4 separate regions of the Homo sapiens genome follow, and regions 2, 3 and 4 are each linked to region 1. Evidence: promoter capture Hi-C in 16 types of primary human blood cells and fetal thymus (Javierre and others, 2016). All regions are on one chromosome and are shown on one strand. The core of a region is centred on a gene start or on the middle of the fragment in contact, and the rest is flanking DNA. Distances in the headings are between cores, read along the strand shown. Region 1 holds the start of GPR87 (G protein-coupled receptor 87). Region 2 overlaps LOC107986047 (a long non-coding RNA gene). Region 3 overlaps AADACL2-AS1 (AADACL2 antisense RNA 1). Region 4 overlaps AADACL2-AS1 (AADACL2 antisense RNA 1).

Evidence for each region. The method cuts DNA at HindIII sites, captures the fragments that hold promoters and counts their contacts. A CHiCAGO score of 5 or more calls a contact.
Region 2: a fragment that was not itself captured here is called in contact with the fragment with the promoter of GPR87 in region 1 in 1 of 17 cell types (neutrophils); the score reaches 6.2 in neutrophils.
Region 3: a contact is called between a fragment that was not itself captured here and the fragment with the promoter of GPR87 in region 1, in 1 of 17 cell types (neutrophils). The highest score is 7.2, in neutrophils.
Region 4: a contact is called between a fragment that was not itself captured here and the fragment with the promoter of GPR87 in region 1, in 1 of 17 cell types (neutrophils). The highest score is 8.7, in neutrophils.

What each region holds. Positions count from the first base shown.
Region 1 is chr3:151,315,418-151,318,193 of GRCh38, reverse strand. It overlaps GPR87 (G protein-coupled receptor 87), which reads left to right and starts at 1,374. Exons shown (of 3, transcript NM_023915.4): 1 at 1,374-1,608. All of the region lies in intron 16 of MED12L (mediator complex subunit 12L), which reads right to left. RefSeq lists an enhancer at 789-1,988. The HindIII fragment of the contact is 4,276 bases long and covers 1-1,525 here.
Region 2 is chr3:151,941,489-151,944,264 of GRCh38, reverse strand. All of the region lies in intron 1 of LOC107986047 (a long non-coding RNA gene), which reads left to right. Among named protein-coding and RNA genes, the nearest start is that of AADACL2-AS1, 15 kb to the right of the region's middle. The HindIII fragment of the contact is 7,614 bases long and covers 1-2,776 here.
Region 3 is chr3:151,919,189-151,921,964 of GRCh38, reverse strand. The region is part of intron 1 of AADACL2-AS1 (AADACL2 antisense RNA 1); the gene reads left to right. Among named protein-coding and RNA genes, the nearest start is that of AADACL2-AS1, 7.6 kb to the left of the region's middle. The HindIII fragment of the contact is 3,389 bases long and covers 1-2,776 here.
Region 4 is chr3:151,854,288-151,857,063 of GRCh38, reverse strand. All of the region lies in intron 1 of AADACL2-AS1 (AADACL2 antisense RNA 1), which reads left to right. Among named protein-coding and RNA genes, the nearest start is that of SUCNR1, 18 kb to the left of the region's middle. The HindIII fragment of the contact is 7,050 bases long and covers 1-2,776 here.

The sequences.
Region 1 (2,776 bases), core at 125-2,624:
AGCTACTTTTCCGTAACATACTTAATCCACCCAAAGCAGAATGTAAAAAAAAAAAAAATTAAAATTGTAGGTGTCTGTTTTTGTATGGTTAGGAAGCAGATAGGAAAATACAAAAAATATAATTTTGATACCCAACTCTTGATTTTTAAGTTAAACACCCATTTGTTTTTCTGTAAAAACATAAGGAAAATCAACTAGTACGTACACATTATTTCCTTAAGACACAAGTAAACACTAAGTAATACCTATTATAGATTTATTCACTCCAAAAAAGTTTTCACCTTTGATTATTTTCATTTATCTTCATCCACAATAACAGGTTTTGATTCCATTTGATGAAATTTTATTTTTTTAAATGTATTTAAATGTTGCATTCAAGAAAATATCAGAATCTTTGAGATTCTCATCTGAAAGCAAGAAAATTATTTACAAATCAGAAAAAGTGGCCGGGCGCAGTGGCTCACACATGTAATCCCAGCACTTTGGGAGGCTGAGGCGGGCGGATCATGAGGTCAGGAGTTCAGGACCAGCCTGGCCAACATAGAGAAACCCCGTCTCTACTAAAAATACAAAAAATTAGCCGGGTGTAGTCGTGGGCACCTGTAATCCTACCTACTCAGGAGGCTGAGGCAGGAGAATCACTTGAATCCGGGAGGTGGAGGTTGCAGCAAGCTGAGATCATGCCACTGCATACCAGCCCGGGCAACAGTGTGAGACTCCGTCTCACAAAAAAAAAAAAAAAAAAAAAAAAAAAAAAGTGATATGATTATATAAATTTGTCATTGTTGGATGCTTTTTTAAAGCAATAAAATAAATTGTTTTATGTTAAAGGTCAGCATTCAAAGGAGTCAGTGAACCCAGCCCCTGAATAATTTAACATATTTTGAATACTTATCATTGTGTATGTGTAAAAATATGTCTATTGTGTATGTGTAAAAATATGTCTACAGATTTCATTAGTTTCATAAGACTACAAGTTTCCAAAGTTATCAATTACAACAATACTCTTTAAATAATATGTAGAATAATATTTTCAAAGAATTCATCTGTCATAAAGCATATTCTTATTTCTTTTAATCCAAAATTTAATTGGCAGGAAGGCTGCAAATACATGTTTTCTAGATAGCAATAGGAGGCTGGAAAAAAAAAATGACCTAAAAATTGGATCTGATGAGTTAGTAGGCCCCAACCCGAGACTTCATCCCCCACTCCTTAAGCAGACTTCTGGCAGTCTAAGCTCCAGCCCTCTGTGTTTCCTTCAGGTGAATCACCATCTGATTCCTGCAGGTTCAGGAAATACTCTTCCCCAGTCGACAAATCTCACCTACTCTTAGTTATGAGTCATTTACATTAGCAAGAGAGCAAGTTGTTCCAGTAGTCGCCTGGCAGGAGAATTTGAAAGGGTGCCCCAAAGGACAATCTCTAAAGGGGTAAGGGAGATACCTACCTTGTCTGGTAGGGGAGATGTTTCGTTTTCATGCTTTACCAGAAAATCCACTTCCCTGCCGACCTTAGTTTCAAAGCTTATTCTTAATTAGAGACAAGAAACCTGTTTCAACTTGAAGACACCGTATGAGGTGAATGGACAGCCAGCCACCACAATGAAAGGTAAACGAAAAATTTTTCATTTTCTTAAAAGCCGTGGTTGATAAGACACAGCAATGATTAAAAACTGTAATTATACTTCTGCTTAACTCTGAGGTTTGAAGAAAAACTAGAAATTAGAATGCTGACAGTAAGATATGAGGCACCACTGTGAGCCATGAAGCTTCAACTGTTTCCAGCTCAGGCAGGCAGAAATATAAACTACATATTGTGCCTTCAAAAGTAGAAACAATGTTTTGGCAATCACTCCTATTTAGTACATTTTTTTTTAAACCACATTTACTTTATTAGATGAGTAAAAGTCAAAGTCTCTTATAATTGTTTCCCAGGACCCAAAACTTAAAATTTGTTTCATAATCGTTTATCCGTATTGTTTTTTTTTAAAGAGAGAGACAAAGATTTTTCTCTTTCCCAACTGTCTCATTTTGATAAAATAATCTCAGTCTTTTCATTGTACCACAAAGAACAGGGCAATCCTCATTCTGATCCCTGGAGAAGTCATGTTAAAACATGTCAGGAAAGGCACTGAGAAAACTGCCCAGTGACTGACAAACAGGTTAGGAACAGCTTACTGTTGTTCCACATTCAAACTGTTTGGGAAGTTTTCACTGCAATGAGGAAAACAAGAAGCAAGCATGGAGATCTCAGTTCTTTTAAATTTTAATAAGGACTTTTAAAAGATAGATGAGCCTAAAGTAGAGTGACTTTTTGATTTCTTATTTTAAGATTTATCTGCTATGGAATTTTACATCACATTCTCAAGTTGAATCTGCTTTTATTTTAGGTATATTAACATTTTTAACAAGAGATTTCTTTCATAATTGTTCTCCAATTTACTAGCAATATGAACAGCAACAAATCTGGTTCTATATTACTTTATACTGGGGGGAAAAAAGCCAGACACCCTGTTGATATTTATTATTTCTGCCAATTGAGATTAACTGTCTCCATGAAGTTAGGGATCAAAGAGGCATATTCTCTTAATCCTTCAGCAACATCTCATCCTCAGACTCTTGTTTCTGACCTCTACTTGAAATGTGTTGCAGGTATACATGGGTTAAGGACAAGGGCCTAGAAGAGCAGATGGATGGCTGAATTTCATATTTAAGGATACAGCCTATAAAAAGAAAGTATCCCGCCAGAAAATCTTTATTTCATGAAGACACTGAGA
Region 2 (2,776 bases), core at 156-2,655, 630 kb before region 1:
ACAAAAGAAAAAAACAAAACCTTCAAATATTTGAAAATTAAAGCTCATGATTCAAAATAATATGAGTCAAAGAAAATGTTTCAAGAGAAATTAGAACACATTTTGAATGAAAATGCAACATAACAAATTAAGTCAAATTTAGTTAAAGCAATGCACAAAGGGAAGATGTGTAACAGTAAATACATACATTATAAAAGGAGGAAAGTCTCTGTAATCTCAATTTCCGGTATAAGAAACTATAAAAACAATAGTAAAATAAGAAGCAGAAGAAAATACAGTTATGTGTCACAACAGTATTTTGGTCAATGATGGACTGCATGTACGACAGTAGTCCCAAAAGATTATAATGGAGCAGGAAAATTCCTATCACCTAGTTGACATTGTAGGTCCCAGTGCATTGCATGAACTTTGCTATATCTGTGTATCTAAACATAGATACACAAGTGCCATTCTGTTGTGGTTGCCTGCAGTATTCAGTAGAGCAACATACTGTATAGGTTTGTAGCCTAGCAGCAATAGGCATACCATATAGCCTAGTGCTATATCAGATGTGCAGGAGGTCATACCATCTAGGTTTGTGTAAATACACTCTGATGTTTGTACAACAAAATTGCCTAACAATGCATTTCTCAGAGCATATCCCTGTCGTTAAGCAATGCATCTTGTAATACATATAAGAACAGAAATTGTTAAAATTGAAAACAGAAAACAATAAACAAATTTTTCTTTTTCTTTTCTTTTCTTTTTTTTTTTTTTTTTTTTTTGAGACGGAGTCTCTCTCTGTCCCCCAGGCTGGAGAGCAGTGGCCAGGCCTCAACTCACTGCAAGCTCCGCCTCCAGGGTTCACGCCATTCTCCTGCCTCAGCTTCCTGAGTAGCTGGGACTACAGGCGGCGCCACCACGCCTGGCTAATTTTTTGTATTTTTAGTAGAGACGGGGTTTCACCGTGTTAGCCAGGATGGTCTCGATCTCCTGACCTCGTGATCTGTCCACCTCCGCCTCCCAAAGTGCTGGGATTACAGGCGTGAGCCACCGCGCCTGGCCAATGAACAAATTTTTTAAATTGTGCTTTAAAAAAAAAAAAAGCAAGACCAATAAACTTAATAAATATCTACAATGATTAACAAAGAAAAAAATAGAGGATGTAAATTACCAATACTAGGAAAGAGAGAGAGGATTTCGTTACAAAATCCAAAGATATCAAAAGAATAATAACAGAGAATTTCAAGATAAATAGGCAACTCAACTAGTCCTCTGTCTATTAAAGAAGCTGATTTTATACTTAAAAGTTCCTAAAAAAGAAGTATCCAGAACAAAAAAGCAAGACAAAGACTAACATGTTTAACAATTCAAAAGAAACACAAAATTCTCAATACAGTGGTCTCCCCCTTATCCTCAGGGGATATGTTCCAAGATCCCTAGTGGACGACTGAAACTGAGGATGCTACTAAACCGTGTGTGTGTGTGTGTGTGTGTGTGTGTGTACACACTATGTTTCCCTCCCATAAATACATACCTATGATAAAGTTTAATTTACAAAGTAGGCAGGGTAATATATTCACAACAATAACTAATAATAAAATAGAATAATTAAATGTTATGCTGTAATACAAGTTAGGTGAATGTGGTCTCTTTCTCTCTCTCAAAATATCTCATTGTACTCTACTCACTTACATTCAAACTATGGAATATGAGAAGATGCCTAACTTCACTAGCAATAAAAAAGCAAGTTAGAACCACAAGAGTTACCATGTCTTACCCAATCTTTAGGTGAAAAACTAAATCTGACACTGTCATGTTGGCATATATGTGGAGCAACAGGAACTTATGAATATTGGTGGTATGATGTATAAATTGGCCCAAACATTTAAAAAATAGATCAACATTTCATAGGAAGTTTGAATATGCTCATAATATATGATCTAAGGATTTCACTCCTGGAATAAATGTATAAAAATTAATAACATATTACAGGAAATAACCAAAATGTCCGACAATGGTAGAATGGAAAATACATTGTAGACTGGTTTTAAGGTGGAACACTGTTCAGCAGGGAAACTGAATGAGAGACAGTTACATGTGAGCTTTGCCCAGTGAATCTACCCAAACCTCATATTGAATGAAATAAGTAAGACATAGACATTATAGTGTAGGAATTCATATTCATAAGGTTCAAAAATAGGAGAAATATATCCATAAGTGGTAAAATCATTTAAAGCCGAAAGAACGTGGGATGATTATTATAAAAGTCAAAATGACGAAAACCTCTGTTTGTAGGATGGGAAGGTGATATAATTGGGAAGATGTATAGAGGATTTGGAAAAAACTGGCCAGTCTCTATTTCTTAACCTCAGCAGTGGACACATAGGTGCATCATTTACTAAAATTATTTAAGTCAATATATGCATTTATATATTGTTTTGTATGAATGATATTTTCTAATAAATGGAAAATTGCAAAGTGAAATAAACCACTTTTTATGAAATACCGAAACTGAATTACTGTGCTTGTCCAAAAAGCTGCATCCTGATGTGGGATATTTGGTTATAATTTTTCTCATTCTAACACATTCCAGTTTTGAACTCTTGACTCTTTGAAATGCCAAATGTAATTATAATGCGGTATTTTGTTTAAGCATGTGCAATTAAAAGGGCACCATTGAATTGTGGTAGTGTGTAATGTTTCCCAGCTGCTAAAGGTAGAGGACATAATTTTATGATGTGTATTTGCTCCTACCAAAGACTCTCTATTTTATAGATTTATATGATATTAGAAA
Region 3 (2,776 bases), core at 130-2,629, 600 kb before region 1:
TGGAAGGGGTAGCAGAAGAGAACTATTGTGATACCAGTTTGAAAAGTGCTTGGCCTTATATTAATGCATGGAAAACGCAAGAAAATGAATTCTCCCTTAGAGCATCCAGAAGGAACATAGCCCTGCTGACTAATTGATTTTAGCTTGATGTAAACGATTTCAGACTTCTGACTTCTAGAATTTTAAGATAATATATTTGTGTTGTTTTAAGACACCAAGTTTGTAGTAATTTGCTATAGTGGTCAGTAGAAAAAGAATACATACGTGAATCCAGACAGTCACAGTGGAGCAACTTATCTGGAGCAGAAGCCATTAGCACCATAAGCTGGCAGAAAAACTAAAATATTAATTTTAACAAATTCCTAGAGGTTGAGTATGGATTATTTGAGAGCAAAAAACTCCTAGAGGTCCCAATCTTAGAGAGGCTTCAACAATTTTATGGGTTTTTACCTCTGGGAACCCCTCCAGGTTCTCATGGTAAATATTCATGAAAGTTTCCCTTGTGGCACTAGCAGGGGAAAGAAAAACTAGTCAATGTAAAATATACCCACAGCCTCCTCCATAATGGACTACGCTGCAGATAAAAGGACTTTACCTGAGCCTTATCCAAGCTGGAAAAAAGCATTCCTCCCACTTTAGTTCCCTCTAGTGTTTCTGCCCCAACTAAGAGGGTACAAAAACTATACAACCGGAGAAATGCTTATGAAAGTCACAGCCCACAGACACAGGCTGACTAAAAGTGTGCGTTTTCATCCTAAGTATATAGAAGGCATCCCCTCACTGACACTTTACCACCACACCAGCAGGACTGCAATATAGTAACACTGGATTACATCGGAAAGAGCTGCAAGATGCAGACTCTCTGTGAGGAGGAGTACTTAGGGAATCCTAAAGTCAAGAAAGAAGACAAAAGCAAGGAGACTAGAAGAACATGAAGCCTCTGGCACCCACAGCTACAGCTGAGATTAAACACAGCCTAGATTCCAGCCAGATTAATGTAAATCCTGACAGTAAAGGACAGTTTATCTCAGTTATAATTACCCAATGCAACATGTTTGGCTTTCAGCAAAATAATTACCCAATGCAACATGTTTGGCTTTCAGCAAAAACTACAAGATGTACAAAAAGGCAAAACATGCGTGTACGCATGTGCGCACATATACACACTCACACATACACAGTCTGAAGAGACAAAGCAATCATAAGACCCAGACTCAAATGTAACACAGATGTTCGAATTTCAGACAGAAAATTTAAAATACCTATGATAAATATGTTAAGGGTTCTATATTTGTTAGCTAGGGCTGCCATAACATAGTACCATAGGCTGGGTAGTTTAAACAAGGGAATTTTATTTCGCTCTGGAGGTTAGAAGTCCAGGCTCAAGGTGCCTTCAGGTTTTTCTTCTTCTTAGGCTTGTCGCCATGACTCGCAGATGGCCACCTTCTTGCTGTGTCCTCACGTGATTTTTTCCTCTGTCTGTGTGCATCCTTAGTATCTCTGTGTGTTTGAATTTCCTCTTCTTATAAGGACACCAATCAGAAGGAAAGAGATAAAACTGTCTATATTCACAAATGATATAATTTTCTATTTTAAAATACCAATGAAATGACAATAAATTCCTGTAATTGATAAGTGTATATAAAAGGGTCACAGGATAGAAGGTTGAAAGTCAATTGATTTCTTATATACCAGCAATAAACAACTAAACATTAAAATTAGAAAAAGAGTCCATACCATTTACAGTAGCTCAACTACACAGATATAAATCTAATATAATATGTATAGAAAATGTGTGTAGGAAATGACAAAATATCAACAAATAAAATAAAGAAGACAAAAACATGGAGAAAGATGTGTTATATGTATATACAAAACACATATATATTTTCTTACTCTACAATCAGCAATCACATTCCTAGGTATTTACCCAACTTGTTTGAACAAACTTATGTGCGCTCAAAAATGTGCCCATAGTTGTCTATGAAAGAGAAACTCGTTACTCTATGTTTTTTTCTACACATTAGAAAAATTTGAACCATCTACAGTAGTCCCCACTTATTCCTTGTTTCACTTTTTGTTGTTTCAGTTACTCATGGTCAACTGTGGTCCAAAAATATGAGCTATTTTATTATATTTTACATGTAACTCTATGTGAACAATTGGAGGAAGTACTGGTTTAGGCCAGTGGTTCTTAAAAAGTGGTCCCAGAACCAGTAGCATCGTCATCTGGGAACCTGCTAGAACATCAAGTCATTGGAACTCACCCAGAGCTACTGAATCAGAAACTCTGGGTATAGGCCCAGAAACGTGTGTTGACAAGACTTCCAGGGGACTCTGATCAGCGAACATGTGAACAGTAGGAGGTTTCAGCAAAAGGAAAGCTCAGGATAGAAACCTTGCACCAACATGGGCTGTCTTTTGGTGTGAACATATATAGACATGTTTTTGTGCTTCCCTGGGGGTGCTGAAGAAGGCTGATGAGAGCCAAGAACCAGCAGGCCTGGAATGGCCCACAATGGTGAGGAGTAAATGTGCCAAGAGCAGAAACTGCAAGTAATCTCTTAAACTATGGGCTGGTGGAGGAGAGCATGACTGAGACTCAAGGTGTATTAGTTTGTTCTCACACTGCTAATAAAGACATACCTTAGACTGGGTAATTTATAAAGGAAAGAGCTTCAATGGACTGACAGTTCAGCATAGCTGGGGAGCCTCACAATCATGGTGGAAGGCAAAGGAGAAGCAAAGGCATGCCTTACATAGTGGCAGGTAAAAG
Region 4 (2,776 bases), core at 94-2,593, 540 kb before region 1:
CCTAGGAGTTTGAGTCAGAGGGAGACTCTGTGTCAAAAAACAAAACAAAAAAGACAACAGCCTGGGCAACATAGTAAGACCCTCATCTCTAATAATAATTAAAAAAATTCAGTGCCATTCGGTCTTTTACAAGCAATAATTTTTGCACCTTGCATCTAGTTTCTCTTCCCCTACTGGTTTTAAGTTTGGTGTTAATATACCTTAGGGTAAGTATTTTTTATTGAATGTGCTGGGCACTTAGTAGGGCCTTTATGTGTGGAAATACACCTACTTTCATTGGTGAATTGATTATCTTTTCTTCCTTTTAGGGGCTGAATTCACCACCACCACCAAATTCACATGCTGAATTCTTAATCCCCAGTACATCAGAATGTGATTGCATTTGGAGAGCGAATCTTTAAAGAAAAAACTAAGTTAAAATGAGGTCACTAGGGTATGCCCTAATCCAATGTGACTGTAGTATTTATAAGAAGAGGTGATCAGGACACGGACACACACAGAAACAATGGTTAGGTGGAGGGGGCGGGGTGTAAAGACAGAGGGATTTGATGAAAACATTCATAAGGTATTAAATTTACAGAAGACTGGATATGAATTTTCAGGATAAATTAAAATAAATAAGTGGTCACCGGTCTTGGTGACAACAGGCCCATGAAAGACAGATAACAGAAAATTAACTGAGAATGTATGTGCTGAATCACCACAGCTCCAGGCTACTTGCACTGCTTGCTTTTAAATACCATGGCATCAGATATGCCCATTTCGGCAAAATATTGGAACCAAGCCAACAGTTAACAGCATTGATTGATTTTTCCTAAGTAGCTTACCCACTGTCTGAATACCACTGAGTTTCAAAAAACCTTGCATATCAAACTCCTAAGACAATCTGGTTTTTCTATGGCCATGTTTTCTAGCCGTTAATAGGCATGTGCTGTTTCAGCTTTCTCAAGTCTTACTATATTCCAAAACCATGTAGATCTCTTTTTCTCCATTTCTGTTATCCTTCTCTTGGGGATTTATATGATGCAATTTCTTCATCCTCATCTAGTGGTATTTCTTGAAGTTGCAGAGAAATTTATATTTGCCCAATGCTCTGTGTAAAGTAAAATAATCACAGATCTATGGGGAAGGTGCATCACCTCTTCCAATCAGATGCTGAATGAGAAGTAGCTTATTAAATTTACTTGTAAGCCAAAGTCGACATTTATATACTTCATTTCTACCATGTTTTAAACTAAAATCAGTATTAATCAAATTTTGCCAGGCACAGTGGCTCTTGCCTGTAATCTCAGCACTTTGGAAGGCAGAGGTGGGCGGATTGCTTGAGGCCAGGAGTTGGAGACCAGCCCCAGCAACATGGCGAAACCCTGGCTCTACAAAAGATACAAAATTTAGCCACTGGTAGACATCTCTAGAGGTTTATTTGGGTTGACACAGGAAAATAACTGATACGTGTAAAGTAAAATCATTTTGTATTCATAAAAATCACTTATAAACATTATTTATATTATGGCAAGGAAAGTTGCTCTTAATATAATCTTAATAGTCAGAGGTGTAAATGCTATAGAATTTCTGTGAAACTTAGAAACAGATTCAAATATATATATACATTATTGATATCACCTTGTAATGCATGACATGTTTCATAACATTAGTGACATGTCCTGTGCGTTATGCCTCACTAGCAATGCATAGGTCAAGGTGCTGTGCAAAACCACCGTGAAGACCGTCCATCCACACGGTATTTCCATCAAACCTGCACATGTGTCTGCGATGTGCTGGCTCACGTCATGTGTCTCATTTTTACTGAGTAAAATTTCTTTTTTGGCACATTATGGAGAAAAATAAGTAGGTTCATTTTGTTAAAAAAAAAAGAAACTTTATCTATGTTTCTATATTTTATGGCCAATCTGTGCATTCTCATTTCATAATAAAATAAAATTAGAACACTACACTATATGAAATAACAGAAAAGAGCATTGGCTTCAGAATCTTCAAATCTGGGATTAGGTTCTGACTGCACTCAAATGTGTTTTTCCACCTCTACCAGCCTCAGATGTTCATCTGTAATCAGGTCTTCATCTGTAAAATAAATTTGCTTGGTGGGGGTAGGGGAGTATCAAATCAGATAGTTTACGACATTTGAAATGCTTTAGACTATAAACTACTACAACATTGCTCCTATTATTGAAATTTAACAGTATTTTATCAAACAACACTTTGATTTGTGATGAAAACCTGGGCAAATTAAAAGATTTCTAACTACTAACTACTAGAAACACAAATTTATTGTGGAATCATTTGAGCAAAGGCTGGATCTGTGGCCATGGCACTGGGATTTACTGGAAAGAGGCACCAGAAAACTTTTTGGGAGGTGATGATAGTAATTTTCTGAAACTTGATAGAGATAGGGTTGGGGTTGCCTAAGTGTGATGCTTAATACTGAATGTCAATCTGACTGGATTCAAGGATACAAAGTATTGATCCTGGGTGTGTCTGTGAGGGTGTTGCCAAAGGAGATTAACATTTGAATCAGTGGGCTGGGAAATGCAGACACGGCCTTAATCTGGGTGGGCACAATCTAGTCAGCTGCCAGCATGGCTAGAATATAAGCAGGCAGAAAAATGTGAAAAGAGAGACTGGCCTAGCCTCCCAGCCTACATCTTTCTCCTGAGCTGGATGTTTCCTGCCTTTGAACATTGGAGTCCAAGTTCTTCAGTTTTGGAACTCAAACTGGCCCTCCTTGCTCCTCAGCCTGCAGATGACCTATTGTGGG